2 separate regions of the Homo sapiens genome follow, and region 1 is linked to region 2. Evidence: promoter capture Hi-C in 16 types of primary human blood cells and fetal thymus (Javierre and others, 2016). All regions are on one chromosome and are shown on one strand. The core of a region is centred on a gene start or on the middle of the fragment in contact, and the rest is flanking DNA. Distances in the headings are between cores, read along the strand shown. Region 1 holds the start of RPS6KB2 (ribosomal protein S6 kinase B2). Region 2 overlaps KDM2A (lysine demethylase 2A).

Region 1 (2,700 bases), core at 1-2,500, 170 kb before region 2:
ACAATACACATCACAACAGACAATAAACCAGCAAACGCCAAAGTCAGGGATCCTCCTCCACTGTGTTCCCTGCTGTCTTCCCAAAGCCTGGTACAGCATGTTGGGAATGGCAGCCACACAGTATTCGTTGGCTGAACGAGTGACTCACCTTCCTTAGGACTTTCATGGCATATATTTTGCCCAAGTTGGTGCCTTGCACCTTTCGCACCTGGAACACCTGTAGGGCAGGGGAGACAGGATCAACTTCCCTCTCCACATCCTATCTTCAAGAAGCCCCACCCTGAAGCTCTGGCTTTGGGATCAGGAGGCCTAGGCCCTGCCAAGGGTGGGGCAGTGAAGATTTCAAGTCCGATTGGAGAGGATTTGGCCTTCCCTCCTTTATGTTTCTGGCTCTGAATCCCATTAGAGGCCCTGCTGATTCACAAGTCTAATTTGTTTTGAGAACCCTTTGCTGCCTCCAGATGGAGGCTGTGAGGCCAGGAGGAGGGTGCGCCCGCCCCTACCTTGCCATAGCCCCCCTTGCCCAGCACACGCAGCAGCTCAAAGCAGTGGGGCCCGATGCGCTCTGGGCCAACGTTCACGCTGGTCTCAGTCAGCTCCACCTCTTCATAGTGTCCCACAGGCCTACGGACACAAGGAGTTAATGAGGACAAGGCTCCAGTGCTCCCCAGTTCCCCTTCCCCACTCCATTCCCCCCTCCCCCAACACGACCCTCACTCACTCTAGGCCAGCTGCCCTCAACTCGGCAAGGGGACATGCGTCCTGTGAGAAACCGAGGGGTAAGAGCCAAGGAAGGTGCCAGGATACCTCCCCGCTCCCGTTCAGGTTGGACTGCGTGGCCCAGGAGAGAAGGGTGTCAGGGATGGCAGCTAGTAGGGGATGGGTAAGAATTGGGAAGAAACCGAAGGCAGGAAAGGGAGAATCGGGAGAAAAGGCTGGGGTTCTGGAAGAGAGGTCGGGGTGAGGGTGGGATCAGAACTTAATAGAGACCGGGATCTGAGAAGGATCTGGGTCTGCAAAGAGTCGGAGCCCGCTCTGGGCGTGCGGAGCCGCCGCTCCGGCCTCGGCTGGGTGACAGGATCGGCTCCAGGATCCAGTCGCGCCAGGGCAGGGCACTCACCGCGGGGCTGAGCTCTGGCTCGCCCTCGCCCTCGCTGCCTTCCTCCGTCTCCAAATCCAAATCAAACACGGCCGCCATGGCGGCGCCGGCCCCGCGGGCCCGTCGGCCCGTACCTGGCCGCGCACTGACTGACAGTCCCGGACCTAAACATCATCTCTCCGCGACGGCAGCTGCGCGCGCCGGTGACGCAAGGGATCTTACTCCCCCTCCGGAAAATCGCTTAGCCTGGTGGGGAACAAAGATGGCTTCCGTCGCAAGGCCTCTCGGGAATTGTAGTCCTAGAGTGGCGAGGCGCCTAGCCTTCAGCCTGCAGAATCCTTTCCGCAGGACCCTCGGTCTTCCCAGCAAGGCTTTCTGGGAGCCCGTTTTGGTTCTACGGTGTTTTGAGTTTGGATGGAGCAGGGTCGGAAGTGTATGCAGGTGTGAATGTAAATGCAATCCCCAGCCCTGTTGGAGACGGGTACTGCCAGGCCGGCTGCGTGATGAAAGGCAGGTCGCGTTGCTTTCGGTTCACTCCAGAAAGGGAGGCGGCTGCATCAGGGTCTCCTCAAAGTGCCTCTGGCTCGAGGACCCTGCAAATCGGAGCATTTACTGAGTGGCCAGCTCACTGCCAGGCTATGTTGCCAGGTTCCCGCCTTAAATAGGGTTTTGGGGGTCAGTGATAGACCTGTAAATATGGGATTTTGTTGGCGTTTACTCCCTTCTTAATTTAAGCACATTTAGGCACCTGGTACAGAATAGACACTTCAAAAAACGTTGTTGAGGCCGGACACGATGCCTCACGCCTGTAATCGTAGCACTTTGGGAAGCCAAGTTGGGAGGATCACTTGAGGCCAGGAGTTCAAGGTTACAGTGAGCTATGATGGTGCCACTGCACTCCAGGCTGGGTGACACAGTGAGATCCTGTCTCAAAAAAACAAACAGGCCGGAGGCGGTGGCTCACACCTGTAATCTCAACACTTTCGGAGGCCGAGGTGGGTGGATCACTTGAGGTCAGAAGTTGGAGACCAGCCTGGCCAACATGATGAAACTCTGCCTCTACTATAAATACAAAAAATTAGACGGGTGTGGTGGCGCGCACCTGTACTCCCAGATACTCGGGAGGTTGAGGCAGGAGAATCGCTTGAACTCGGGCGATAGAGGTTGCAGTGAGCCAAGATTGCACCACTGCGCTCCAGGCTGGGCGGCAGAGTGAGACCAAGTCTCAAACAGATAAAACCCGAAAACCTGGCTGGTCACGGTGGCTCACACCTGTAATCCCAGCACTTTGGGAGGCCGAGCCAGGCGGATCACCTGAGGTCGGGAGTTCAGGACCAGCCTGACCAACATGGAGAAACCCCGTCTCTACTAAAAACACAAAATTAGCTGGGCATGGTGGTGCATGCTTGTAATCCCAGCTACTCGGGAAGGCTGAGGCAGGCGAATCACTTGAACCTGGGAAGCGGAGGTTGCGGTGAGCCAAGATCATGCCATTGTACTCCAGCCTGGGCAACAAGAGCGAGACTCCATCTTAAAAAAAAAAAAAAAAAAAAAAAAAAAAAAAAAAAAAACTTTATGGTTTTTTTTTCTTTGTTTTGTTT
Region 2 (2,700 bases), core at 95-2,594:
GGACCTCATAGAGACTAGCAAGTAAGTCGGGTAGGCTGGGGTGGGAAACCTAATTATGTGAACAAGCACGAGTGCTGGGCAGAACCAAGCTCAAGGGAGAGGAAAGGAGGGAGAGCACAGTTAAGGACGTGAGGTTTGGGAGATCTCAACAGCACCAGTGTGATCGGCACGGGTCTGGGACTCCTGGGGCTGCTGGCCCCTCCTGCGCAAGCCGGGAGAGTGTGATGGAGGAGAGACGCGCACTGGACACCACAAGAACCTGGCCATGGAGACAGGGCCGTTTTCTTCCCTGGGAGTTTGCTCAGAACCAGGCACTGCTGGGGACCATGGATGGGGAGGAGGGGCACAGGGCCCAGTGCAGATGAAGGTTGCACAAACACCCCAAACTGAGAGCCCGGCCTCCTGGCAGGCGAGTAAGCGAGCAGGCGCCTCGACAGCACAGCCTGTGCTTTCCCCTCAGATCAATCTGCTACTCCCTTTTCCTTAGGAGGGAGAGGAGCAGGCAGATAAGCCTGGTGTCCACCACCCTCTCTGCCCCACCTGTAGAGGAAGGGCTCAAGGGACAGGAGAGCAGAGAGGGAGTGTGACGCTGGCCTCAGAGCCCGTGCAGGGTCGAGGAGAGGCTCTCCTCGGTGGGGAGTCAGGGGAAGATCGGTTTCCTGTTGAATCTGGGCTGGGTGTGTCTTAGCTGATCTTCTGTATCAGCTTCTCGTCAGACAGGCAGTAGAGGCTGTTGATGGACAAGTCTGAGATGAAGTGCTCGCAGGCTTTTCGAGTGATCTGCTTGCATCCTCGAAGGTCGATCAAGGTGACGTTGGCAATGCGCCGTAGGTAGATCAGGGTCTGGTCTGTCAATTTATTGCAACCTGTCGGGAAAGTGGACATAATGACAGTGCTCACATACACACAGCTTTCCTCTGCCATTCAATTCCTGTAGCCGTCTTTCCTTCAAAATGCTAAACAAAAGCCCTCTTTGTCCCACAACTACCTGGCTCAGAGACCAGAAGTGCCATCAGCACCTCCAAAGGGACCCTGCTGCCTCACTCCCATCACCATATGACAACAAGCACAAGGGCTGCAAGGCTGACCAAACTCCAGCTGGATGTTGGCTGCGCAGACAGGCAACCGACTTAACTACTCAAGGCCTCAGTCCCCCATCAGTTAAAAAAGGGATAGAAATCCATGTCCTTGTCCAGATGTGAAGAAATGAGCTGATGTGGGTCAATCAACAGACCCAAGGTCATTCTGGTTTACTGATCAAGTTCCAGGGAGGGCTGGAGGCAGGGGGCACCGCTGATTATGAACAACTGTAGCGGCATACCTGCCATATTGAGCTCTGTGAGAGAGTAGCGAGTGGAAGACCCGACAGCAGTGAGTAGATTGGAGGACTGATCTGTAAGGTGGCTGCAGTGACTGAGGTCGAGTCGAGACAGGAGGGGCATGTGGCGAATTATGAGGCGAAGCGTGGCATCTGTGATGTCAAGGCCTGCCAGCCGGAAGTCGGTCATGTTCCGGAGCTTGCTGCGATTGTCCTGACCTGTACAGGCAAGAGAAGAGCCTAGATCAAAACTCTCAATTCTCTAATCCAGCTTCAAGGCTCCAGGCAGCAACAGCTACTTGCTGGCCAGGCCCCCTTGAAGGGGTTAAGTAGAACTGCCCACACCCAGCCATGCCTTCAGGGTGTGAGCACTGGGTGTAGGCAGTTTCTAGGAAACCAGACAAGTTTTCTTTCTTCTCAAGCTGCTAGATTATGCCTCATGCACACAGCAAAAGGCTATGTGCAGAATGCTCCTCCCCTTCCAATACCACCACACTTTTCTAGACCATCATGCAAATAGCTTTTGACTCCACCTCCACCATAAAGCCTTCTCAGACTTTTTCAGGCTTACACTCTCTGGGCCCCAAACTCCACCAACTCACAAAATGGACTTACTCCATTGTTTGTAGGTAGTTATCTGCTTATAGTTACCCTATTCTTGTACACAGTCCATCATTCTGTTTTCATTTTGTGCTCTTCTATTCTTCCACAGCGTCATATCTGAGACTACCTTAGCTTCTGAAGACGAGGTCTGTTTGGAAGACAAAGCTACCCCAAGACAAGCACAGAGAAGTCAGGTCCAGAGCATACCTGGTTTATCAGCCGGTGGAGTAAGCAAGTCCCGAATTTGAGGGTCCTTGATTCCTACTGCCCACCGAAGATCAAGGGTCCTGAGAAGGGGGCAGCTGGAGGTGCTGAGGGCAGAGACTGCAGACCAGGAGCAGCCTGCTAGGAGGAGGTCTTTCAGTCCTGCAATGGATGGAATGAGACATGTAATAATACACTGTTTCCCAGCATACTCAGAGCCGTAACGATCTGAGCAAAGTGAACAAACTTCCAGTCTAATAGGAGAGAAGGACTATGCCTAATCTTTTAGTCATCCAGCTCAAAGATTTCCATGGTATCCTATACTACATCTTCTAGCTTTAGTGGTAAATTGATTGCTTAGTTCCCACCAGAGCAATACAAGAAGGAGTGACTTCCTGTCTTTCTAAGAGCTCAAAATGCTGAAGAGAACAAGGGCTTATAAGGAGCTGACCAAAGTAACATCTGACTCAAATTTCCTCTTTAGTGGTTATGCTGAGGAGAACTGCAGGGCTGGCAGCAACACTGATTCCGTTCTCTTTGCTGTCCATTGCAGTGATTGGCCTGCCAGTCCAGAG

What was found. Contacts are between HindIII fragments. The CHiCAGO score rates a contact against its expected background, and 5 or more counts as called.
Region 1: the fragment with the promoter of RPS6KB2 here is called in contact with a fragment that was not itself captured in region 2 in 1 of 17 cell types (naive CD8 T cells); the score reaches 5.2 in naive CD8 T cells.

The regions. Positions count from the first base shown.
Region 1 is chr11:67,427,044-67,429,743 of GRCh38, reverse strand. RPS6KB2 (ribosomal protein S6 kinase B2) reads right to left here and starts at 1,250. Exons shown (of 15, transcript NM_003952.3): 1 at 1,121-1,250; 2 at 722-762; 3 at 504-624; 4 at 149-217. The coding sequence starts at 1,198. RefSeq lists enhancers at 5-772, 1,207-1,456, 773-1,540, 1,557-1,706. The HindIII fragment of the contact is 16,232 bases long and covers 1-2,700 here.
Region 2 is chr11:67,253,040-67,255,739 of GRCh38, reverse strand. It overlaps KDM2A (lysine demethylase 2A), which reads right to left. Exons shown (of 21, transcript NM_012308.3): 19 at 2,129-2,287; 20 at 1,322-1,537; 21 at 1-866. The coding sequence ends at 685. Among named protein-coding and RNA genes, the nearest start is that of GRK2, 12 kb to the left of the region's middle. RefSeq lists enhancers at 584-1,084, 1,085-1,585, 1,042-2,241. The HindIII fragment of the contact is 5,283 bases long and covers 1-2,700 here.